Regions from separate parts of the Homo sapiens genome. Here regions 2 and 3 are each linked to region 1. The links are contacts of gene promoters, found by promoter capture Hi-C in blood cells and fetal thymus (Javierre and others, 2016). All regions are on one chromosome and are shown on one strand. Each heading gives the region's core, a stretch centred on a gene start or on the middle of the fragment in contact. The rest is flanking DNA. Distances are from core to core; before and after follow the strand shown. Region 1 holds the start of STARD4-AS1 (STARD4 antisense RNA 1). Region 2 overlaps EPB41L4A (erythrocyte membrane protein band 4.1 like 4A). Region 3 has its middle 58 kb from the start of EPB41L4A-AS1.

What was found. The method cuts DNA at HindIII sites, captures the fragments that hold promoters and counts their contacts. A CHiCAGO score of 5 or more calls a contact.
Region 2: a contact is called between a fragment that was not itself captured here and the fragment with the promoter of STARD4-AS1 in region 1, in 1 of 17 cell types (monocytes). The highest score is 6.5, in monocytes.
Region 3: a contact is called between a fragment that was not itself captured here and the fragment with the promoter of STARD4-AS1 in region 1, in 1 of 17 cell types (monocytes). The highest score is 5.1, in monocytes.

The regions. Positions count from the first base shown.
Region 1 is chr5:111,510,486-111,514,455 of GRCh38, reverse strand. STARD4-AS1 (STARD4 antisense RNA 1) reads right to left here and starts at 2,230. Exons shown (of 7, transcript NR_040093.1): 1 at 1,948-2,230. It overlaps STARD4 (StAR related lipid transfer domain containing 4), which reads left to right and starts at 1,921. Exons shown (of 6, transcript NM_139164.3): 1 at 1,921-2,071. RefSeq lists enhancers at 1,457-1,596, 2,077-2,286 and a silencer at 1,677-2,046. The HindIII fragment of the contact is 3,364 bases long and covers 43-3,406 here.
Region 2 is chr5:112,186,671-112,190,640 of GRCh38, reverse strand. The region is part of intron 17 of EPB41L4A (erythrocyte membrane protein band 4.1 like 4A); the gene reads left to right. Among named protein-coding and RNA genes, the nearest start is that of SNORA13, 27 kb to the right of the region's middle. The HindIII fragment of the contact is 2,049 bases long and covers 751-2,799 here.
Region 3 is chr5:112,100,589-112,104,558 of GRCh38, reverse strand. No RefSeq gene overlaps it. Among named protein-coding and RNA genes, the nearest start is that of EPB41L4A-AS1, 58 kb to the left of the region's middle. The HindIII fragment of the contact is 5,460 bases long and covers 1-3,970 here.

The sequences.
Region 1 (3,970 bases), core at 981-3,480:
TCCAGATGATGTATTTGTATATGTATTTCTGAATCTGAAGCTTTGCTGTTAGTAGCATTCCACTTTGATAGAGTGGCTTCCAATTACCCAAACTTCATTCTAACCAAGAAAAATGGCAACAGATGAAGAACAAAAGCAAAAGAAACAAAAACCTCCCAGAAACTGGCTGGAAGATAAGAAATCCCATGGGGGCATAAGTGTGATGTAATGACTCCCGCCGTCCAAAAAAAAAAAGCCAAGTTAATTTTGTTTTAAACATGTTTTACACCATCCTGCAAGAGAATATATAGACTGTTGAGCAAAGTATCCAGAACTGAATCCTAATAATGACAGATACAACTTTTTTACTTTTTTGAAATAGATACGTGGATTTATTCCTCTCCACCATTAAACCTGTGTAAACCCTCACAGTAGGAATTAGGCCTTTCATTTATGGTCCCAGTGGTCTTCACAGGTGCCTTGACAAAGAGCTACCAAGCACCATCTGAATTTTATGGAGACTAAGAGCCCAGTTTCAGAGTCCAGCAGACCTCAGCCAAATTCCAGTTTCTCCACTCAGTAATTAAGCAACCTGCCTTAAGATTTATGTCTGGGGCTCCTCGCCTGTAAAACACACCTACCTTAGGGGGCTGTTAAGAGGATTCAATGTAATTGAATTAAGTAGGTACAACTTAATTACAAAGCACTTTTCCCCAACCATTTCAAATTATTTATCTACGTATTCATCCATCCATCCAAAGCACCTCAATAATTGGCCAATAATTCCTAAGTGAAAGGAGCTTTACAACACACGAAGAACTCTTCTATTATGTCACACGAAATTATAAATATAAATATAAAACAAATTATTTTACATATAAACGATGGAGGTAAAAAATAAATCGGCCAATAATAACTAGCAAGTAGTATTTGGTAATTCTTTTGGTGAGGCCGACTTAAAAATTTACGAAATATTATTTATTTTCATTGCAAGTCTATCAGAAATCACTAATGGTGTAGCACTGCATTCTTCCCTGCTTTTGGTTCTCAAACTACGTATCTTAGTAAACGCAATTTGCAGACAAACCAAGCCTCGCTAATCAGTGCATCATGGCTACTCTGGTAAAGGAAGAAATTCACTGTTTGCCAAGCATCCCATCAGATGGGTGACTTCACAGCCACTGGAAGAAATCTTTCTCATGTTCGAGTAGATGGAAACTCCAAAACTGTGCAGTTGCTAAATCCACTTGTCACACCTCCTCCTTTTCTCTGCTTCTAAGGTTGCCCTCTAAACTCTTTATCTGAGGATGGAAACACACACACGCACCCACACACACCCACACCCACACACACACAAACGTATTTGGCTAAAGGTCAATTCACATAGTGGCAGGGACTTTCGTTTATATGCATTTTCCTTCCCAGCTCTCTCAGTTCTGAGTCAGGCTAAGCAGGAGGCAGAGAGCTCGTCCTCCTCTGCATGGGCGCTTTTTCTTATTTGACTTTTAGTCCTGGGAGGAGTAGCGTAGTTGCGAGATACTAGGATATCCACAAGCGGGATGAATTTGGACCTTATCCCTCACTGTGATCCTTCACTTCGCCTTCTGTTTCAATTTCTCCCAGTCGGTTTACTGCTTGACAAAATTCTTTCACAATTAAGTGATCACAGGACAACCCAACCCAACCAATCCAAACCTGCAGGCAACCCCAGACATCCAGGGAACCCTGGCGCGGCTCGGGCCAGCCCACACCCACGCGGAATCATTCCATTTATCGGCCACCAATCAGCCCTCCACACGCTCCCGCGCCAGCCAATCCGAACAAGCGCACGTTGTTCCGGCCACCTCCTCTCAGCCCCCCCTCCCCGGAGCCCCCGGGATCGGGCCAGGGGGCGGGGCTGGGGGCTCGGCCCGCCTTGCCCTGAGGCGCTGGGTGCCTTCCAGTTGGCTGCGACCAGCGGTGACTTACAAGTTGGCTGCTGTCGCCTGCGCATCGGCGGGCCGGGAGGCTGAGCAGTACTGTTGAGAGCGGTGTGAGGTGCTTGGTAGCGCGCCGTAGCTGCTTCCACGTCCTTGCTTCACCTCAGGTAAAGGTAAGGAGAGCCACGGAGCCGCGGCAGGATTGGGGTGGCCCGTGTGGAGGGCGACTGTGGCGCCCGGGGCGTCCTGCCAGGTGCGTCTTCTGGACCTGCTCCAGACCATGGATCTGGGGAGCTCGCGGTGGACGTTGGGGATGGCGGGCCCCGGCGTCCGGGCGGGAGAGGACCTCACAGATGAAAGAGAAACCTGAGCCCCTGGGAGGGGAAGCGGCGAGCTGGAAGGATCCCAGGGCTTGCAACTCGCCCCTGCGCGCCGCTCACCTATTTAAGTACTTGGAATCCATTAGACCTCAGTGTCCTCAGCTGTTAAATGGGAGAGGGGCGGTGGTAATCCCGCTTGATTTGGGACAGTCCTGTTCTTTGGAGGTCACCGCGCTTCCTGGTTCTTAGGAGGTGCACAGACAGCGCAGGGGCAGCCGCGTCCCACCAGGCTTCGCGGAGGTGATGCCAAAGACAAGAGACAAAGTTTTCCCAGGGCTTACTGCCTTCCAAGGTCCCTGCTAAATGTATTAACTCAAATAATTTCTCACCAAATCAGTGTCATTGTTTTCCCGAATTTACACTTGAGAAAGATTACCTTAGATTTTTAGGTTCAGCAGCCAGGACAAAACTTGACAAATATTTGGTGGGCCCAGGTTTTTTATATGAAGTCTTTTCCAGCCTGTGATCAGCTTCCACAGTTTTACAAGAGAGAGCTTTAGGCTCTGAAGTCAGACGCCCTGGGTTGGAATTCTGGCTCCATCACTTATGAACTGTGTGATCTTGGACAAGTGACTCAACCTTCCTGTTGCTATTTTCCCTTTCTGTAAAACAGGGAAAATGTATAGACATTAAGCTACTATTCTCACTTATGGAAGACCTCAAGATATCTAAAGTATGCCCATTTACACCAATCCTAGAGCTTCTGAATAACTAAAATTCCTTTACCATAATGAAACACATTTTCTCAAGGAGGACTATTACTGTTGTGAGGATTAAATAAAATAAATGCAATGTAAAGCAGCCAGAAGGACTGACCATGTAGTAAGTGATCAATAAATGTTATTGTTATTTTTTAAAATCAAGTACAGAGCATTAGGTTTTTTTTTTAATCAAGTATTAGAGCATTAGGGGTTTGAACAGTAAGTTGGCTCACTATTCATATTGTAGAAATATACTTCCATGTTGCATTTCTTTAAATAGTGAGCTCCTGCCAGAGCCAGTCTCAAAAAATGAGAAGCTGCTGTACTTGTCTGAGTTAGAAAACTTAACAGTTCAACATTGATTGGAAATCAAGCATATGCTGAAATTTTTATGTTAGTTAGAAAATATAATTTAATTTACAAAGCTTTGGTTTGTATGACATTGGGGAAAGTCCATGGCATGTTAAACTGAAGCTGTTGACGGAAGTGAAAACCATATTAATCAAGTAATGCAAGGTTAGACCGTTCTGATACCTGCATTTCTTTAACAAGTGAATTCTGACCTAGTCGTACTACAAAAGTCCAAACAGATTTTTATGGCATTCACTTTACATTACAGGTTAAATGTTTTATTATGTTCCATATTTAAAATAGAACCTATGCCATCTCACTGTGACAGATATTTGAGAATAATTGGAGTTGGATTGGTCAAGACTATGGTGCTGATAGATGGCCTCAAGAAAAGTAACTTGAGACAGCTGCCCTCCCTATGATGGCAGCCACTATCACCACTAGTGATAGCTTCAAAAGCATGGGCATAGAAAACATGAACAAAAAGATTAAAGGAAAAACATGGAGGTGGACATTACTCAGCATTTGGCCATGGGACTGACAAGAGTATAAAATCTTTTATATGAACCTATTATATTCTGATAAGGTTAAGTGGTGCCTGTTCTCTCTGACGTGTAAATGTTAGAGTTGGATAATTTCC
Region 2 (3,970 bases), core at 526-3,025, 680 kb before region 1:
AGTGAGAGCACTTTGAAGTACAGAGCCACGTAGTCCTATACCCACTTCCAGAGTTACTCACTGCTACGGCATCTCCTGTCCTCTCCTCCATCCTCTTCCAACTTTTCTTTTGGTCCTATGTTTCATTTTCCCACCTTTCCTAACTTTATACCTTTGGTTATTTTTACACCAGGATTCTTAACTTGTGATTCATGGGTAGGTGCTGGGGGTTTCATAACCCCATGAAATTGTATGTAAAATTGTATGTGGGCGTCAAGTGCGTAGTTTTCTAAAGATAGGGTCTGTAGTTTTTATCAGATTCATAAGGGGGTGTTTATGTAACACCCCCCCCTTAAAACTTACAAAGTTTTATCATCTAAATAGTGAAGGATTACATTGTTACTGGGAAATGAAATTGGTGTTTCAATTCACTGGTAGGATTAAAAACTAAAATGCCTAAACTTTCTTTAGAGATTACTTTGCTATACTAATTTGTGAAACAGTTGATTCTATTGAATTCTTGAAGTTGGGAACCTACCTAGTACAAGGCACTATAAAGTTAATCTACATGAATATTAGATTCTATTAGTTAGAATTTTGAATCTCGTCCCTGAGATCAGAAGGGCCAGCAGCTCGCTTATTGCTGTAGGTTTGAGACCATGGGCCATGTGCTGGACTTGCCCAGGGTGTAGGATGAAGGAGGACCTCGCAAGTAGACTTAGGAGAGTGAAACCTTTGATGAACTAGCTTTACCTGGATATGTCTTAAGCTTAATAAAATATCCTTGACATTCAAGGAAAAGGTTCTACAAAATATCCTTTGTGCTATTGATGAAAATCAGCAGTCCTTTGAGCATTCACTGAGGAGAATCTTTGAATTACTCATTCATTCATTACCTTTGATGTGTTTCTAGGCTCTTAGAAGTTTGGAAGTGGGAGATGTGGAGGAGTGGGTGACATGAGATAGTCTGGTGCGTTTTTTTCCATCAGCATAAAAGTAGAAATAACTTGGGAGCCTACCAAGTATTAAAACAGAGAAACGAGAGCAGCTTAGGGTAATAGTAGAACTAGAGGAAATTGACAACAGGGGACTATTTGAACGTTTCCCTAATTTTATTCTAGGATGTTTGCATCATAAACATGAGTCATGTACGTCAGTGTCAGGCTGCATGTTTGTGTACATATATATGTACATGCAAATCTGGGAGCCTGTACTATGAAATTGAACCCACTTTGAAGAATTCTGTGGCTTTGAGCTGGTTACTTTATCCTGTGAATCTTCATTTCTCACATGCAAAGTGGAATAATACCTGACCTGCCTACCTCACTAGAGGTTTGTGAAGTTCCCGAGATAATAGATGTGCTTTGAAAAGTAGAAAGTGCCCTGCACAGGCAAGTTCTGTTAAATTGATAACATCCAGCACTGCTCAGTATTTTCTGAAGTTCCTGCAGGATCTGTAAAATGGGGACCAGCTCCCTTGAACAAGAAATAAGTCAGTGTTTTCTAACATGAGTTTGTTCTGGCATGAATGTTGCTAGTTTCTCCCTAACAACATTGGGGTCTTTTAGATGTCTTTTAGGGTCTACCAGATGTCTACAGTATCTAAATAGTAGATTAAGACAGATTTAAATATTTTAATTATGTTCCATAAGGTCTTTTATATTGTTTTTCTAAAATGAGGAAGCACATTTCTGTGTGAGAAATTTGGCACTGTAAGAGGGACAATATATCTGACTAGGGCAAATCTAGAAGATCACAATTTTGGTAGGATTTTGTTTTGGGAGTGGTAAAGAAGAACTTTATTGTCCCTGTACCCTAGGGAAAAAATATATTTGGGATGTTAGCAAACTTAAACTGATGGGCATTTCTTCCGTCTTGCTTGAAAATAGGTAACCGCTTCCTTGCCAGGAACTGCCTACTGTCCTGCCCCTGATTTAGGGGCTGCAAACGAGGTAAAAATTTTGGGTACGGAGAGAAGAGTTCGTACAAAGCTAGTGGAAACAGTGTTCACCGTACTGCAGATGCAAGGGTTTCTGATTTCTACTTTAATAGGATATATCAAGATTTAGACATTTGATATGGTTGATTTAGGGCTTCCAGAGTATAATCAAGGTTGGCAGAGATGACTGTGGAAGGACAAAGCCGCAGCAACTGAGGAATGCTGTTACATTACTGAGTGAGGGCAAAATAGGTTAAAAATTCATGAAAACAGGAGAGTTTGAAAGGGAAATTGCGCCAGAGGTAGCCCATTGTAGTAGTGGGCACGTAAGGAATAAGTGGAAGAGACAGAAGTACCTTTAAGAGCAAATAAGAATAATTTATTGATGGTAGAGACAATGGGAAAAGCAAATGAACTTTTTGCTTGCTGGTCTTAAGGGAGTATGTCGACACATGCCTGGAACCAACATACATTTCCCTAGGGAAGAAAAACTAGAAAAAAAAAAGATTGCTTTATAGCAGGTGATCCAAAAAAAATGAGTACAGTTGATGAGAAACACAAGTTCACAATCAGTTGGGGCCTGCAGATTTAATTTTGGCAATGGAGGGGCCATGTGAAGCAATTGTCTGGAATGTTATGCTATAGTTGAAGAGTGTAAGTTTCTTTCAGTGTGTCTGTCTGGTTTGGAAATAAAATACAAATAGAGAAACATCAAGTTTTAAAGCTAGAAAGGATCTTTGCCATAATTTTATATATGAACAACCTGAGACTTGACCAAAAAAGATAAGCAGTTTGTCCAAGGTCTCTGAGTCAGATAATGGCAGAGCTGGGAATGGAGAAAACTCAGGAGCAATGTTTATGGCTTGTATCATCTTGAAGCTTCATTTTACATTCTCTCTGAAAGACTTCTTAGATTCAGCATTAAGCATGGTGTTTATCTCAGTGAATTAGAAGTGAATTAAGAACTTATGTAAAGAAAGGTTCTGTTAGGAGCAAAACTGCTAAAGGGAGAGGACACAATAAAACTCGGGGATTTGTGTAAGAATTCATTGGTAATGTGAAGAATTTTGCAAAAGAGGAAGGACTGTAATTGGTAAGACAGGAAAGAAGAGGCTAGGAATAGTCATTTTCTTCATTGTTATCAAATGATTATATGGCATTTCATCTTCAAAACCTTTGCAGACCTTAATTAAATGTCAAATGCAGTTAAAATCTAAATTGTATGGATAGTCTGGAAAAGTAGAGTGTTGAAGTTTGGTAAGAGATGGAAGAAATACATTAGAATTCTGTTCTGAAACATGGTTAGAATTTGCTGTATTCTAAAGCAACCCTCTCCCTTATACATTAACTGAAAAACAAAAACCTTGTTATGATATACTTCCTACCACAGTTGTTGACCCTCCATAGTTACAGATGGAGAAATTGACAAAATAGGATAAATGTAGACTTATTGGATCAATTAGTACTGGAAATAAATGTTTGTTAGTTTATTGAGGTTCACCTTTAGATGCAACATTTGAAAATTAATAGATCCACAACATAAATGACAACGGACTCTTTTTCCTTTTTGAGACTTTGATGACTATGATGTAAGAGCACATTTTGACTTTTTAAAAGGTACTATGTCAAAACAATGTTTGTGGTATTTTATTCTTCATGATGTAAATCTATACATCGAGATTAAAATAGAGCAGGAAAGGAGCAAAAAACTATTTGGATCCCCCATACCTGAGAATAAATGAGACTTAAAAAGTCAGAATTATCACAGTAAACATATCTTTTTCATTTAAAGATTTCTTTATTCACTCATGCATAAACAAAATAGTTACTCCTGCCTCTTAAGGACAAAGTGCTACAATATTCTTGCTTCTAGGGCTAGGATTTTTTTCTTTCCAAGTAGCACCTGTGTTTTTTGGAGCGGTTCAGCAGTGGAAGAAATGACACTTTCATTCTTGTAATGAGGCACCATTAACTAGAGGTCTTTTGTAAGGATGTAATTTCAAACTTCATTACAGGCCAAGGCCGCCACACTACCCATTACTCAGGAAAATG
Region 3 (3,970 bases), core at 1-2,500, 590 kb before region 1:
ATCTGCCAGCTCTCGGACAGCTGTTTTATATTGACCATAGTTGTAGAAAACCCCTGGTAGAGATGAGGGACATGCTACACCTGCATGCATTTTGTTTCCATAGCAATGGCTGTTGGCAAAGGTGGGTCATGAGGGTGTGAGGTAGGGTGTAAGATGTGTAGAATATACTCTGTGTGTTGTTTTGTAACTTGCATGTTTTTTTGAGTCAGTTTGTATGTGTTTTTTTTTACTGTTTTAACCTGACCTTATTAGTTCTGCTCATTTTTTGGTTTTTAAAATTCATTAATTTCTGGTTTTACACTTATTATTTTATTGCTTTTTCTTATGGGATTGTTTTGTTTGCCTGTTCTAATCTATTGAATGTAATGCTTAGATTTTCTTTTTTTTAAATTAACAATGTAAGTATTTGAGGCCATATATTTTCTTCACAGGCTATGTAGCATATTGGAGTTTTCTTGGTAATAATTTTCAACCTTTATTTCATTATTGTCCTTTTAAAAAGAAAAAATTTAAATTTATCATTAATAAAAAATGGTATAGTGAAGAATAAAATTTTGTTGAATAGAGTTGAGCTTTGGTCAACCACAAATGATTTTAATGTCTAATATTTTTCACTTCCCAAGAACCAATTTTCACCTCTTGGGAGGTAATATACTCTCTGTTGAGAATGCATCATTTAATAAATACTTCCTAAGCACTTTCAAATTTCATTTAAGTCTCAGATTAGCCCTATGAAATAGGCACAATCCTTGTTGTAATATAGTGTTTTTAATGTCATTAAAGACATTCTGTGATTTTGGGTTTCTTCTTTGACCTAAAAGTTGTTTGACAGAGAGGTTTTTTTCTTCAACGTTTTATTTTGAAATAATATCAAACTTTCAAATAAGTTGCAAGAACAAAGAGCCACCCTATACTCCTGAGTCAGTTTCACCAATTGTTCACATTTTACCACATTTACTTTATCATTCTGTCTCGCTCTTTGGCACCGCCCCTGCCGCCCCCACCCCACCAACCACTGCCCACAATTTCTTTTCTGAACAAATTTACAGTGAATTGCAGTCAAGATGCCTTATTTCCTCTAATATTCAGTATGCAGTTTCTGAAGTAACCACTATACAACCCAGGTAATCACAGTATAACCAACTGAAAGAGAAAATTAACATTGACACAATTCTGCCATTGAATCCAGAGACCCTACTTACATTTTGCTAATTGTTCCAATAATACCCTATAGCAAATGGATGCAAGACCTAATCTAGAATTACATGTTGCATTTAATTGTCATGTCTCTTTAGTTTTGTTTGGTCTAGAATAGTTTTAGTATTTTCTTGTCTTTTGTAACTATGACATTTTTAAGGTATACATATTATTTTTTTGCTTTGGTTGAATGTCGCCTAATTTAGGAGTTCAGTATTTCTTCACGATTAAATTCTATTTATGAATTTTTGGCAGGAATATTACACAAGTACTCTGTTCTTCACGATGTATCATATCAGGAGATATACAATGTCAATTTGTCCCATTTTTGGTGATGTTAAATTGAATCATTGGTTTGAAGTGGTGTCTGTCAGTTTTCTCTTCTGTGAAATAATTATATTTTCCCCTTCCCCTTTGTAATTAGTTAAGTACTTTGTGTGGAGAAATGTTGAGTTTATATAAATGTTTCTCAGCAAACTATCTCCTATTACTTTTAGTACCCATTGTTGATTCTTGCCTGATTCAATTATTACTATGATGGCTGCAATTTTTAAATTCTCTTATTTCTTTAATATTTATTAAAAAGAAATATATATTCCTACATATTTCTATGAGCTTGGATGCACAGATTGGAACACTTTATTATCACTATTAATTTTAATGCTGAAATTGATACAGTTTTGGCCAGTAAGAACCTTCAAGCTGTTCTTAAGTTTTTTATGACAACAACGGATCATATGATGCCTTCTGCAAGACTTGGTGGTATTTGCAAAAACTATGGGAGGCACAGAATGTCTGGTTGTCTCTATTTTTGTCATGTGAACATACTATATCTCTTAATTCATTGAGTTCAAAAATAATCATTACCCAGTGGTATAGGGCATAATAGAAAGGTAGAATTTGAGATAAGGAATTAGTTTCTTATCAATCTCTGAAGGTGACCAATGACTACTTTTTAGTATCATTATAAACTTATGGCTTAAATATGTTTGGTAGATTTCAATTCATGGCAATTATTGTCTTTATTGAAGCTCATCTTTAACCAGTGGAAGTCTCTCCAAGTTCTTGAATTTTTGGATGTAACCCTAATAATCTTTGATAGTGGCTTCTTATCTGGCGTGACAAAATATTCCAGATTTATTTTATATATTTCTTGTTCTAGCTCTGTAATCAGCCATCTGAGACTGTATCTCAATCTCTCAAAAAATTTTCACCCCCCAAGAAAAAATCAAAATTTTTTAATTAAGCTAAAATTAATATCTAATAACTAAAATTAAAGTAATTAAATTAAATACTAAGAAATAAGATTTTTTTTCAGGTTGGGTTGAGCTTTGGAAGATCACAAACAATTGTAAGACTTTTTTCATCCCCCGTAAACCAATTTTTTCCCCTTTGGGGGCAATGTCACCCCTACTGAGAATCATGCTGTAAGATGCCCTAGTAGAAATGATATTTTAAGACCACAATCTGAGCACTAGGAATACAATTTAGTTTTCTTTCCTCTATAAGTCACTTGTTCTTCTTTTTTTAAATGCCTAATGGATATTTCACTTTTTCTTTAAACTCCAGAAATTCTACTAGCATATGTCTTGTTGTTAGTAATTATGAACCTTCATACGTAGTTTAGGGGATTTTTTTTTTTTTCAATTGATACAGAGTCTTGCTCTGTCGCCCAGGCTGGGATGCAGTGGCATGAACACGGCTCACTTCAACCTCCACCTCCTGGGCAAGTAATCCTTCTGCCTTAGCCTCCCAAGCAGCTGGGACCACAGGAATGAACCATCATACTTGACTAAAAAAAAATGTTTTTTGTAGAGATGGGGTTTCACCGTGTTGTCCAGGATGGTCTCAAACTCCTGTGCTCAAGCAATCCTCCCAGCTCAGCCTCCCAAAGTGCTGGGCTTACAGATGTGAACCACTGTGCCCAGCTGGGAAAATTTTAAGGAAAGTTTTATTAAATTATAGTTTTTAGTAAATGTTCTCAAATCTTGCTTAGGTTTTCTTTTTTCAGGGACTCCTTTTATCAGTATAAATTGTCTTTGCTTATGTTCAATATTTACCACTTTGTCTTAAATCATTTTTAACTGTCTTCATTGCTTTTATATTTTTGTCTTAATTCCCTTTTAATTTTGAAAATAATCCTTCTTTTCATCTTATCATTCTCATAAGACATTACATACTATGTCTATTTGCTTTTCTGCTCCTTCATGTTTATTCTTCATTACTAAAATGGTTTTTAAAAAATTTATTTTGAATTATTTTTTGAGCTGTCACTTCATTTATGAGTTTTTTTGGATTCTGATGTTCTTTCATATCTTATACTATTTCTTAATATCTATTAGCTCATTTTGAAGTAGTTTGTCTGATATGTGGGCACATTTTTCTGGCATGCTTTCATTATTGGTAGTGTTTTTCTGCTTCTTAGCCTTTTTTTTTTTCTTATATCAAGGCGTGAAATTTGACCTCAATTGTTGTCTCTCCAAATTTTTATGAGAAATTAGTTTTTCTCAACTTTTAAAACACATGGGCCAGGATAGTATTTCTAACTTCTCATAGTTTTCCCTATTGTTGTTTTCAGGTATACCCAAGCAAGATAGTGTCTTGCTTTCTGAGATTTCCTGGCCTCTTTCCATAAGCCCCTTCTCCTCTTTTGTCTTAACACTATCCTGCTCAATTTGATATACCCCCAGGAGTTTCATCCCAATGTGGGGGTTCTGTTCTGGAAGAGAGCCCCAGCTGATCACTTCTGAAAGTTCATAGACTGCTCCATTCA